Linked DNA regions of Homo sapiens: all the other regions are linked to region 3. The links are contacts of gene promoters, found by promoter capture Hi-C in blood cells and fetal thymus (Javierre and others, 2016). All regions are on one chromosome and are shown on one strand. Each heading gives the region's core, a stretch centred on a gene start or on the middle of the fragment in contact. The rest is flanking DNA. Distances are from core to core; before and after follow the strand shown.

Region 1 (3,055 bases), core at 331-2,830, 3.0 Mb before region 3:
AATACAAAAATTGGCCGGGTGTGTTGGCATGCACCTGTAATCCCAGCTACTCGGGAGGCTAAGGCAGGAGAATCGCTTGAACCCAGGAGGCAGAGGTTGCAGTGAGCCGAGATCACGCCACTGAACTCCAGCCTGGGCAACAGAGCGAGACTCCGTCTCAGACAAACAAAACAAAGCAAGAGTAGTTTATGTACCTAGCTCACAACATAGCTTCTTTCAACAGGTTTCACGGAGACACGTGAACCACGTTCTTGTAAGACAAGAGCTATTCTACAGGGTATCTAGAGTGCAAACCCAAACCATGTCTTTTTCAGTGGATTTTTCATGTTGACATCATCTTATTTCACTTTGGGGAAAGTTTTTTTCTAAGGATGATAGCGAAAAGTCCTTTTGTCTTGTGACAATAGCAATTTTTATGTCAGCTTGGGTTTTTTTCCTCCCATATTCCCAAGTAAAAGTAATAACTTTGTTACCAGTTTTGCCATCTGAGGTTAAACTGTTTGACCATGGCTTGACGACTATTTTATACTTAACACTTATAAAATATTAGACTGATAGTTATTTAAGTTACCACCAGTGATAGCTCTGGAATCCCTGTTTTATTAATTTCCAGGTAAATCCTTCTTAAGCACATGGGAAGATAGCACTGTAAATTTTGGGGGGTAAGGAGAACCTCCATCAATTAATACATCAGCTTGATAAAATTCAAAGAAAAACATGATCAAATAAGTTCAGATTATATTTAACACATTCAGTTTCTAGAAGTAGTTTTGCTGAATAAATTCCCACCAGTTGAGCTAATGGAGCAACGGAGCTGCCAGTGCTTCCCGGAGGCTGCTGTGCTCAGCCAATTCGGAGGCATGGCGAGCCACACGGTGGGAGGTGGGTAAAGCCGGGGCCCTCCAAGGCTGGGCGCCACGTTGCTTTTCTCTTCTGAAATAGGAAGACAATGCTTCTGGCTATTGTATAAACCAGCCGAGGACTGCTTTCATTCGCACATCAGCCAAGGCGTGAGCAGAATTAAAGCGCCTTCTAATTCGACCCCTGGCAACGTGCGCGTCACGGACAAATGTTTAGTTTTAACGCCTGGCTGCGTTCGCCTTGGGAAAACACACTTTTAAGAATGGCCAAGTACCTCAGCAGTCGCGGTGAACTGCACAAGATCAAAACCACCACGCCAACCCAGCGCTGGCCACCGTCCCCGCTGAACCCCGCCAACACCCCTAAGGACCCACCCATGTTTTCTGCTAATCATTTTTTTTTTCTAAACAGCTCTGCACAGCCTTTCCTCATTCCGTTCCCGCTCTCCCCACCCACTCTGCGTTCGATCCGAGGTTTCTAGTCCCCAGCTGGACATCACAGCACCAACTCCCACTCAGGAGCCGGCCAGAGCCCGAGCCGCAGCGCAGTGGGCAGCTCCCCGCGCTCTCCGCCAGGCCCTCGGCCAGCCAGCCGCCACTCGGCCGCGAGTGATTGACAGGCGGCAGCAGCTATAGGCCGTGGAGGTGGGACGATGCGTCACTTCCTGGTCTTTTGGGGGGAGCCGGGATATATAAGGGCGGTGCTCACGCAGCGCTCTCGCTTACACAGTATGGCCGGCGACATTAGCTAGCGCTCGCTCTACTCTCTCTAACGGGAAAGCAGCGGAATACAAGAGACTGAACTGTATCTGCCTCTATTTCCAAAAGACTCACGTTCAACTTTCGCTCACACAAAGCCGGGAAAATTTTATTAGTCCTTTTTTTAAAAAAAGTTAATATAAAATTATAGCAAAAAAAAAAAGGAACCTGAACTTTAGTAACACAGCTGGAACAATCCGCAGCGGCGGCGGCAGCGGCGGGAGAAGAGGTTTAATTTAGTTGATTTTCTGTGGTTGTTGGTTGTTCGCTAGTCTCACGGTGATGGAAGCTGCACATTTTTTCGAAGGGACCGAGAAGCTGCTGGAGGTTTGGTTCTCCCGGCAGCAGCCCGACGCAAACCAAGGATCTGGGGATCTTCGCACTATCCCAAGGTGGGTCCCCGGGGCGCTCGCTGACATCCGGGCCTGGGGGCTGTCGCCGCCGCCGAGGCACCAGCCACGGGTGGAGCCCGAGTTCCCTCAGCTTTCAGTTGGGGGCAAGTCTGCGGCCTGGGGTCGCTTCGGCGGCCTTGGAAGGTGCGCGGTTTGGGGGAGAGCGGCCATGTCCACGCGGGCCGGAGCCGGCTTCTCCCGCCGTGGTTGCCGCGCCTGGCATTGCCCTGGGGGAGGGGAGGAGGCCGGCGCGGCCGCGTGCTCAGGTAACGTCCCGCGCTGGGCGGCGGGCGGCGCGGCCCGGGGTGGTTTTGCGGCCCGCGCCTCCCGACATTTCCCTCCGTAGTAGTTGGCGGCAGGGGCCCCAGGTGGGGGTCGGGGGCGCCTGCGCGGGTTGCCTCCGGCAGGTGTGGCTCGGCGGGCTTAGTCAGGCGCTAATTCGGGCGTGCCGGCTTCGGGGAATGGAGGGCGGGAGCGGCGCTTGTTCTTGCCTCGGGCGCGGATAGGAGGGGCCCTCCCGGCCTTGTCTGAGGGGCTGGCGAAGAGGCCTCCCACCCGCGGCGGCCGCGGGCAGCATGTGGCGTTCGGGCGGCGGGGATTGGGCGGGAGCAGTTATGTCGCAGTGGCGGGGCCCCACCGCTCCCCTAACATGCTCTGCGCCAGAGCCTTTTCGGGGCGGCTGGGCAGACGGCGCAGTCCCCGGGGCCGCCCTCGACACGGCCGCTGAGGCCGCTGGGGGCTGCTCCCCAATCTCTTGACCTTGGGTTGTGTAACCTGCTACGGAGCCGGCGGAGCGGGGCGGGAGAGGTGCGGGTGGAGGGAGGCCCGCCTGCCCCAGGACATAATGCCTCTAATGCCTTAAGCTTGAGCAAAGGAATCTGGGGCCCACTCCCACTGCGGGCCGTCACGCGAGAGATACTTGGGCTGACCGCGCCGAAGAGGCGTTTTAGTTGGTATTGCTGTGGAAATCCATGCTTATATAAAAGCCCAGAGATCCCGTGGATGCTTAGGCCTTGTTCCTGGCGGCGGTCGCACCGGTGGCCA
Region 2 (3,113 bases), core at 85-2,584, 2.4 Mb before region 3:
ACACGCTAATTTTCAAAATTATTCTTATTGCAAATTTAACTCCAATTTACCAAAAAAAAAAAAAAAGGTTATTCTGGTAGTTTCTTATATTTAATTTTATAAAATATAAACAATGAGAATATATTTATAATTGGATAAGCATCTACATAAACTTATATAGCATTTCAGAATTATCAATTCCTTATGTTGAAAAGCTTGATTTCATGGCTAACAGTATCTAGAACAATCTACCAAAATATTCACTAAGCTAGAGGAAGTGGCAGAGTTCCTTAGAGTAATCTTAAAGACAAGCAGCTCCCTCTATAGTCTGTCTGGCCTACTTTGTTTAATTCCTTGCTTTGTGGACATCCCACACTCTTCTATTTACTCCTACTCTGCATCTCAGCAGGGAAGCTCTTTGAAAGGATAGTTCTGTTTAACCTGGTGCTGAGGAAACTGTGAGAGCTGTCTAAACTCAGCATGAAGTGAGTTACATCAAGCAACTAAGCAAAAGTCGAGATGTGGAAAATGGACAGCTTCCCAAGTCCACCTCAGTCAAATCCTTAAATGAAGCCTGATGATTTCATTTGTAGTGAATCCTCTGAGTGGTCACACCTATATTCAAATCTAAATGAAAAAACATTGTCCTATACTTTATTCACAACCTTTCTTCCCTCCATTAAAACAAGTTACCAAAATGTTGTTCTAAAAGAAAAAATTAACAATTTATTCTACAAATGATACTGCTCAATTTGATTATGTCAAAATAATGTTCAAGACATTTTAAAAACTAGTTAAAAAAATGGAGAGGAAATTTGTTTTTGTTTTTTAAAAAATTCCATAACTCAGATGAAGAAACTTTAAGTGATTCCCTTAGGAATCAATATCCTCAGTTGGCAAGGGATTAAATCAGTCAGGATTTACCATTCAAATCTGAATATCCCCCCCCGCCTTTTTTTTTTTTTTTTTTAAGACAGGCTCTTGCTCTGTTGCCCAGGCTGGAGTGCAGTGGCGTGATCTTGGCTCACTGCAGCCTCAACCTTCTGGGCTGAAGCGATTCTCCTGTCTCAGCTTTCCAAATAGCTAGTACTACAGGTGCACACCACCACGCCCAGCCAATTTTGTTTGTTTGTTTGTTTGTTTTGTACAGACTATGTCGCCCAGGCTGGTCTCCAACTCCTGGGTTCAAGCGATCCTCCTGCCTCTGTCTTCCAAAGTGTTGGGATTACAGGCATGAGCCACAGCACCCAGCCCTGAATATCCCTCTTTTTAAAAATACCTTTTCAAATTTCACCAACTTAAGACATGGGAGCTTTTAAACCCAAAACACTTTATTTCTTAAATTACTCAAGATACGTCCTCAAAACACAGAACAATCAAAAGTCAACTGGACTGTTTTCTAAAGCAGAAAAATGCTTTTCAGGCAATAATAGAAAAACTAAACTAGTAAAAGGGTATTAATCCAATCAGTTCAGAATTTGTAATATAATTTTGAAACGGCCACTTCATTTGAGAAAAAATATCTTTGGTTGCTATTTTTCAGGATCTCATTTGTAAAGCAAAGTCAATTTTAAAACATTTTCTCTCCAAACCAAAGTAAAGCATTAAGGACCTCCCAAAGTAATTCTTATATATGAAAAAAGTATGTTTATGCTATTTTATGTAGCATAGGTTTATCATGTGTTACACATTTTTATTACCTTATTTTACTTGTTAGTAAAGATATAAACTATAAAGATATAATACAAACCATGTTTATATCTTTGCATTATGTTTACATCTTTACTTTCAAATAAATCTGTCTTCATTAAAAATTCTAGCATTCAGAGTTTTACTAAGTCAGACTGGCCTCTCTTTTATATTAATAATTTTCAAGTTTTATTTTATTGGACTAGTTTTCCTTGGGGAGATAATTCAAAAGCAGGTAATTCTGCAGTTTTTGATTATGTTTAATTAATATTAATCTCACTGGGAGTTTCTGACGTGCTAATAAAAATGCTGGCTTGGTTTATGAAAAGTGTAAACTCTAAATGTATGCCAATGACTTCAAATTTTTTCTTGTTGAAACAAACATTTTGTTGGAAACTGTGAACTACATGGCAAATTCAATTTGATAATCCTTAACAATTTAAAATTTGACTTTCTCTGTATCAAGTTTTATGTCTTTCAATGTACATATAAAAAGTGTTACTTTTTAATTCATTTAAAATATAAATTTCAAAGTATGTACCAAAAAAAAAACCCCAATGGGGGTTTTTAGTCTTTGGTTTTTTCGTTTTTGTTTTTTTTTTTTTTTTTAAGGTGCTGGTAATCTATTGTGGGATGTCCATGAAGGATTAAATAGGAAATAGTTAATGTGTCTTTTAAAAAATATTCAGGAAAACAACAGTATATAATATTCTTTATTTTTTAAGGAACATTTCCTCACGTAATAGAATTACATTAGCTTACAGTGAAACTCATTTATTTCCACAAACGAAACTTTCCTATACAACAAAGCTTGACTATCTCTCAGGAAAACATATTTAATGACTTGTGTGGAGGAGAAAAAATTATGTGTGGAAAAGTAACTCAAACCATACAAGCTGTAATACACAGAAATGCCACAGTATATCCTATTAGCATGTCACTTTATGATTCGGAAATTTGGCTGAACAGGGCCATATCAACTTCACTATTTTATCCTTCCTCTGCATCTGAAGTGAGAACAGTGCATTACACTGAAATTCCAATTGGAAACAAAGACAGCACCACTATATTTAAAAGGGCAGAAAACCTATCTTATAGAACACTTCATCGCCTCGATTTCCCAGCCTCCAAAGTTTCAAGTGTTACACTTTCAACACGTTAAAAGCACTCAAATTCCCCATCTTTCAAGGTTCATATCAAAATCATATTCACTAGTTTAAATAGGAATATGCTACCAAATCTCACAACATTGACATTTTAACAAAGAGAATTCACATTAAAAGATAACTGCTTTAAAATGAGTGCTTGTGTTTGGGAAAGCGCTATTATCTTGGTAGTCCACAGAAACTGACTGTAGTAATAAGATGAATGGTGATGAGGGCAAGGAGCATCAAGTGGGAAATGCTATCTAAAATCCCATAGGGCAATTCATAGCTAGAGGGAAG
Region 3 (3,259 bases), core at 37-2,536:
CTTTGGGAAGAAAATGCTTATTAAGCTGTTTCCTTGGTTCCCCTCACCCCTCATACTTTAAGTCAGTGCCTTGTCTCTCACGCACAAAAAGCGTCTGGTACTTCGGTGGCAAGGAGTGCAGTGACAGATGGAGGTATCCTGTGTACCATTATAGAAGGTTTTCCTCTAACCCAAGTTAGACTTGGAGAGCTCAGGGATCTTGCTATCTCTCAACATACAGAACATTTCTCCTTAGAACTGCAATCCGGTTTAGAATGTCATCGTTGCTGCTGCCTCCCTTCCTTTCAGGAGCACATTCGCCTGCGTGCGCACTCACACACACGTTCAAAAAGAGTCCATTCGATTCTGGCAGTAGGCTGAAAACGATCCATATTGACGCGAATAACATCCCAACTGTAAATATGGATTCGTCTACTCGAGGCTGTGTCTCATTTCACCATAGAGGAAAATTATGTCATTTAAAACAGTGATAAAACGCGAAGAGTTTCGATCTTCTGTAAATGGCTCTCACTTTGAATTGTGGGGGAAAAAAATCACTAATTGGGAATAGCCAGAGAAGGGGGAATTTGTTGAGCGCCCAAGGCCAATCTCAAAATATTTTATTTCATGCCAATGTGGGAGAGGGAAGGGAGTGTGGCTTCGCTGTTTGCCGCTTTTGCATTTTCCACATCTGGCCTACAGACCTAATTCTAACTTGCGATCTCGCTTGATGAAATTCGATCTTCGTGGTTTAAATACCTTTCAATTTGGGACGATTTAACCATTGCAGCAGTTCAAAAAACAAACCCTGAGCATTATCTGTAAAACCAATATGGAAAAAAGAAAGAAAACATGCTGCAAACACACAAATCGCAACCATTGTCTTTAACACTCGCATACACACACATACACATAAACACACGGAAAGATGGGGGAGGGGAGCGAGTGGAGAGAGAGAGACACACGGATATAGACCGACGAGAGTCAATGCGAGTCAAGTTAACGCTTTCTCCGCCCCGATGCACAAGTACCCCCCTCCCGTGTTAATTAATTCCAAACAAAGCAAGCCAATCAAGAAATGCATTATTATTTTCAAGCAGAGAGAGACGAGTGCCATGTATTTTTTAATTGATTTATTTATTTGGAGGACATTAATTCTCGGTCTGAGGCTGATTTTCAAACCGTTTGCAAAGCGCGGCTCCATTGTTCGCCAGGCGCGCAGACCCCGCCCCCTGCTTTGTGTGCGGCGCGCGGATTGGCCGACGCGCGCGGGGGCCGCGTCAGCGCCCGCGAGCCCATTCATCTGTGCACTTGGGCGTTGGACCCCGCATCTTATTAGCAACCAGGGAGATTTCTCCATTTTCCTCTTGTCTACAGTGCGGCTACAAATCTGGGATTTTTTTATTACTTCTTTTTTTTTCGAACTACACTTGGGCTCCTTTTTTTGTGCTCGACTTTTCCACCCTTTTTCCCTCCCTCCTGTGCTGCTGCTTTTTGATCTCTTCGACTAAAATTTTTTTATCCGGAGTGTATTTAATCGGTTCTGTTCTGTCCTCTCCACCACCCCCACCCCCCTCCCTCCGGTGTGTGTGCCGCTGCCGCTGTTGCCGCCGCCGCTGCTGCTGCTGCTCGCCCCGTCGTTACACCAACCCGAGGCTCTTTGTTTCCCCTCTTGGATCTGTTGAGTTTCTTTGTTGAAGAAGCCAGCATGGGTGCCCAGTTCTCCAAGACCGCAGCGAAGGGAGAAGCCGCCGCGGAGAGGCCTGGGGAGGCGGCTGTGGCCTCGTCGCCTTCCAAAGCGAACGGACAGGTAAATTCTACCTGTGGTTGTGGTCATTTATTTCGTGTCTTTCTCTCCTTCCCTCCTGGTGGCTCCCAAGGCTCATTCGTGGAGAGGAGTGTGGCTGGATTCTAGTCTGAAAGTTGAATGGAAATGGATAGCCTAAATTGTGGATTTTTCATAGCCGGGGTCCCCCCACACCAAAGGAGTGGTTCCTTAGAATCCTGGAGAATTCTTGAGTAGACGGGAGGAAAGGAGTGATAAATCGTCTAAAATGGCGTGGTTTGGAGATTGGCAGAACGTGACTAGCTAGGTGCCCTCCTTCCCCCGCCCCCAGCCAGGTTTCATTTGTGTTTGGGGGCACAATGGTGTTTGGGTGTCTCTCGGGTTTGTTGTCGAAGCTGGATTGTCTTCGAGATTTCTGAACTGGTGGTGTGATTGTGTGTGGCGGGGGGGGGAGTCGGGAAAGGGGGGCGCAATGGGGATGGTGGTGGAGAAAGGCGAGGAGGGAAAGGCTGTCTTATTGTATGCCGCGGCGGCGTGCCCTGGGTTCTTGGAAAGGTGGCTGGCTGGGGCCAGACAGAGGGCTTCGGTACCTTTTGATGAGGCTTTCCCACTGTCCTAAATCTTTATTCGTAGCTGTCTGTGGAATTACACATCCATTTGATTTTTAAATGGTATCTGTGGGGTGGGAACACTCGGTGGGTCCTTTAAGAACCTTTCCAGATGGTCAAAAAGAGGCGGTTCGTGCCTTTCGGTCGGGATTGTTCTTGTGCGTGGCGCCTCGACCACCCGCGAGGGGCCGCCCGGCGCTGCCCGGACCCAGGCAGATAGCCACGATTGGGTGGACCCGAGAGGTCGGCCATGGGTGGCTGCTTCGCAAACACTGGGCACCCACCACGCCTCTTTTCCTAGAGAAGAGATCGTGTCGCTTCGCCTGCTCTAACCTACTGGGGAAAGCGAGGTCTGCCAAGAGGCTTTAAACCCGTTAAAAATGCAAAATGAGCCGCCGAGGCGCGCCCAGGCTTCGCAGAATCGCAGGGGAAGGTGGGCGTGGAAGCAGAGGCGAGACCTCAGAAATAATGGGTTTCCCCCTGCCTTGTTGGTTTCAGCCCGACCGGCAGGCCAGGAAACCACCTGAGCTTTGTTTGCGGACTGTTGGGCTGCGCGATCCGGGCTCGGGGGCGCCTCGGCCTGCGGGCAGGGCCCGGCTGGGCAGGGCGGGGTGGCCCGGCGACTCCGCCCCTCCTCGCCTGCCTGCGCCCAACGCGGCGCGGTGGAGGCACAGCGCCCCCTGCCGGTGCCAAAGGCCTGGGTGGGCGCAGGAGCTCGGAGGGCCCCGCGCGGGCGCTCCTGGCTCGAGTGCTGTGATCCCCCTGGGAATTCCTGGTATTTTGAAGAGGCCTTTATGTATTTAGGGCGAAAGAGGGATGTGAAACGTAGGCGCGAACCACCAGCTCTGGCTCTGTGCCTTCTTCCAAAGGGCGTTTGCTGTGTCAA
Region 4 (2,873 bases), core at 374-2,873, 2.3 Mb before region 3:
AGAAACTTTCAATTACAAGATTCCCAAGGCCTTACTTCATTCCCCAGAGAGTAATCTTTTTAATAAATGTCCAAAAGTCATGGATTTAAAAAAAAATCTTTAAACTCATTAATGTCCTTTGTTTCCTGCCCAAATGCATGCAAACTTTCATAACACTGGTTTGCTGAGTGGAAGGTTGGTTTTGAGTGAACTGTTTGGCTCAGATTCAAACTCCAATGAACAAATACTTCCAAGTTTACTTGCTGAATTTCCCATACAGAGAAGTTCTTCCACTGGGCTTGCCAGAGGATTTGAAACAGTGGTGAGCCCTGGAAGGAAGGGAATATTTACTGGCCCTTGGACATAAACCCAGCACAGTAAGACTCACATCAGGCTGAAGGCAGTGCAGTATGAACCGACCTGATTTGAGGAAGTTTGCTCTGGGACTCCTCTGAGCTACTAAATGAGGAGGAGAAGGACTAATGGGAACACACTGACTCCATCACATTAGAAGTTATAATAAACATTTAGAGAACAACCTCAAACCAGCCCATGTTTTTTTTTTTTTTCTGTCGTTGTCATTGTTTTGGTTTTTGTTTTTTTGTTTCTTCAGATAAGATGGTTTCTCTAAGCACATGTGTGATCCCTAATTCAGCCACAGCCACGGAGTGAAGGAGAGGAAGGGGTAGAAAGGAAAAACCAAGAGAGGAAGAGGAAGGGAGAGAAAGGAAGGAAGGAGAACGGAAGAGAAGTAAGGAAAGTGGGGAAACGCTGAAGGATTTTTTTGTATTTGCCTTTTATTGGTGTAGGAGAGACACTTATTTACTTGTAATTTGTATGTAGTGCTGGGTATGAGAAGGGGCAGTTGGAAGAGAAGGGAAAGAATGAATATAGGTGAAAGGTAAGAGTGTCATAGGGTAAGCTGGGAGGCCAGGAAGAGTTTGGACAGACAGCTCAGAGTAGGAAGAGAGTTCAGAGCGGGGAGGGAGACCTGTTGACTCTGGGAAGGGGAAAGGGAAAAAACACTGGCATCCTGACTGCAGGGAAACAATGAGGCAGCGGAGAGCAAGTATCCCTCATTGCTGAGGGAGCTGCCAAGACCCCAGGCAGCCTCAGTCTGTGGGGTGCGGCCTGTGGGGTGCGAGGAGAGGGGCACAGGCTGGGAGCTCCGGTCAGTCCTGGCCCTCCTAAAGGGCTTGAGTTCAGCTGCCTTATCAGGGAACCAAGCCAAACCAGCACAGACCTAAGGATCACCCCATGGATGGAAGCCCACCCTTCTTCAGCCAGTCTACAACTCCTGGTATCCGGGAAGGTCTGTGCACACACAAGGTGTGCACACACACACACACACACACACACACAAGGCGTGCACACACAGCTACAGAGTGAGCTGAGTAGTCACAGCCAAGCACATGTGTGCTTCTAGGAGGCCTGCTGGGCACGGGAGGCAAAGACCATAAGTGGGAGAAAGGACAGCCTGAGTTTCATGAACTAAAAATATCTTGGTGACAACGCATTGGGAAGAAACAGGAGAGGCCCGGGGGGCAGCTTCTTGATTCCAGTCCTCAGACACTTTCTCATGGAAAAATCCTTCAGACTGCAGGATTGTTTTGATAAGGAAATGTGATCAAACATTAGGGGTCATTTCATTGGATCTGAAAGGAATTTAAAGTTGAATATGCCTCATCTGTGTTCACTCTTTTTTTTCTGCAGCAGTTGCCTGCAATTCATATATGTTTTTAGAAGCTAATTTAAAATTGCCTGCAGAAGAAAAATGATTTGAATTCAGGATATTCCTGAGATTTCCATTCTACAACGTGTAAAACAAAGATTTCATTTAGACAAACTACCCCACCATAATCTTTCTGAATGCCTGTTGAAGAATGCCTGCAGATATGACTGTCTTCTCCTCTTCTTTTTCTTTTCAGAGCATTTGAAAGTCACTAACTCCTTAATCCCAGGAGAAGCAGGCTTTAACATTTCCTGTCTCTACACCTTCCAAAAATGAGTAACCCTGAGTTAAGAACCTTTCTATCCGACATGTTGGTACATTACTCAGACCTCACTTCTGTTTAACCCACCCCATGCAAGGAACAGAGCAGAGTAACTACATTATCCATCTTTTGATGCTCCATCATGGAGTGACTGGTAGCTGCAGCAGCAGATTAAGAATGACTGTGGTGTGTGGCCTTTAAGGATTAGAGCGAGGCTGGCAAGTGCACAACAGTTAGCCTGCTTTCAGATAATGGTGCATCGTTGTTTGAAAATAAAATCAGGAACTCATTGCAGGTGAAATATCTTGAAATTCCTGTCCTTTCATCCCAGGGGAATAGAGAGAAATGCCTAAAAACATGACACGGACTACACCAGGACATCCCACAGAAACCAAAAGTCCTGCACCAGCCCATCCCAGTCAGCTAGGGCCTGTTTGAACTGTATTGATGGCAAGTAATTGCCAAAAAGAAACAATGACAATTTTTTTTTAAGTCACGGTCTGGAAAAAGTTAAGGATTCTGTGTATCCGCCATCTAATAATGTCTCTAATCACAGTCATCACCCTTACATGGTATTAGGATGTGTTTCATAGTTTCCCTTCCCCTCCCATTAAAGGCCCCACACACAGTGACTGGTCCAGCTGAGGAGTGGTTTCCAGGTCCAGCTACAGCAGTAACTCTGGCTTCTGGAGCTGGGCTTGTCTGCCAGTTCTCTGGCCTGCCTTGACTCTGTGGACAATAGCACAGACTATCCTTCCTGGGTAACCCAAATGGGACATGAACTAATTCGAGAAACTCCCTGTTTTCTCCTATTTGGCTAGAGCCAGTAATAAGGCCTCAATTCCAGGCAGCCCTCCCGCAGAGACACGTGTCTCCCAGCCTTTCGCCCTGACTGCTGCT

Evidence for each region. The method cuts DNA at HindIII sites, captures the fragments that hold promoters and counts their contacts. A CHiCAGO score of 5 or more calls a contact.
Region 1: a contact is called between the fragment with the promoter of AMD1 here and the fragment with the promoter of MARCKS in region 3, in 1 of 17 cell types (fetal thymus). The highest score is 5.3, in fetal thymus.
Region 2: a contact is called between a fragment that was not itself captured here and the fragment with the promoter of MARCKS in region 3, in 1 of 17 cell types (fetal thymus). The highest score is 11.2, in fetal thymus.
Region 4: a contact is called between a fragment that was not itself captured here and the fragment with the promoter of MARCKS in region 3, in 1 of 17 cell types (fetal thymus). The highest score is 5.7, in fetal thymus.

Annotation. Positions count from the first base shown.
Region 1 is chr6:110,873,205-110,876,259 of GRCh38, forward strand. It overlaps AMD1 (adenosylmethionine decarboxylase 1), which reads left to right and starts at 1,581. Exons shown (of 9, transcript NM_001634.6): 1 at 1,581-2,011. The coding sequence starts at 1,902. RefSeq lists enhancers at 2,003-2,718, 2,719-3,055 and silencers at 2,156-2,405, 2,466-2,535, 2,566-2,755. The HindIII fragment of the contact is 4,442 bases long and covers 1-2,872 here.
Region 2 is chr6:111,478,579-111,481,691 of GRCh38, forward strand. The region is part of intron 1 of REV3L (REV3 like, DNA directed polymerase zeta catalytic subunit); the gene reads right to left. Among named protein-coding and RNA genes, the nearest start is that of REV3L, 3.1 kb to the right of the region's middle. RefSeq lists an enhancer at 64-788. The HindIII fragment of the contact is 2,284 bases long and covers 193-2,476 here.
Region 3 is chr6:113,856,059-113,859,317 of GRCh38, forward strand. MARCKS (myristoylated alanine rich protein kinase C substrate) reads left to right here and starts at 1,287. Exons shown (of 2, transcript NM_002356.7): 1 at 1,287-1,789. The coding sequence starts at 1,688. RefSeq lists enhancers at 42-101, 122-171, 442-987, 988-1,531, 1,319-1,368 and 1 more and a silencer at 2,834-3,163. The HindIII fragment of the contact is 4,373 bases long and covers 156-3,259 here.
Region 4 is chr6:111,601,772-111,604,644 of GRCh38, forward strand. All of the region lies in intron 1 of TRAF3IP2 (TRAF3 interacting protein 2), which reads right to left. It also overlaps TRAF3IP2-AS1. Among named protein-coding and RNA genes, the nearest start is that of TRAF3IP2, 2.7 kb to the right of the region's middle. The HindIII fragment of the contact is 3,499 bases long and covers 1-2,873 here.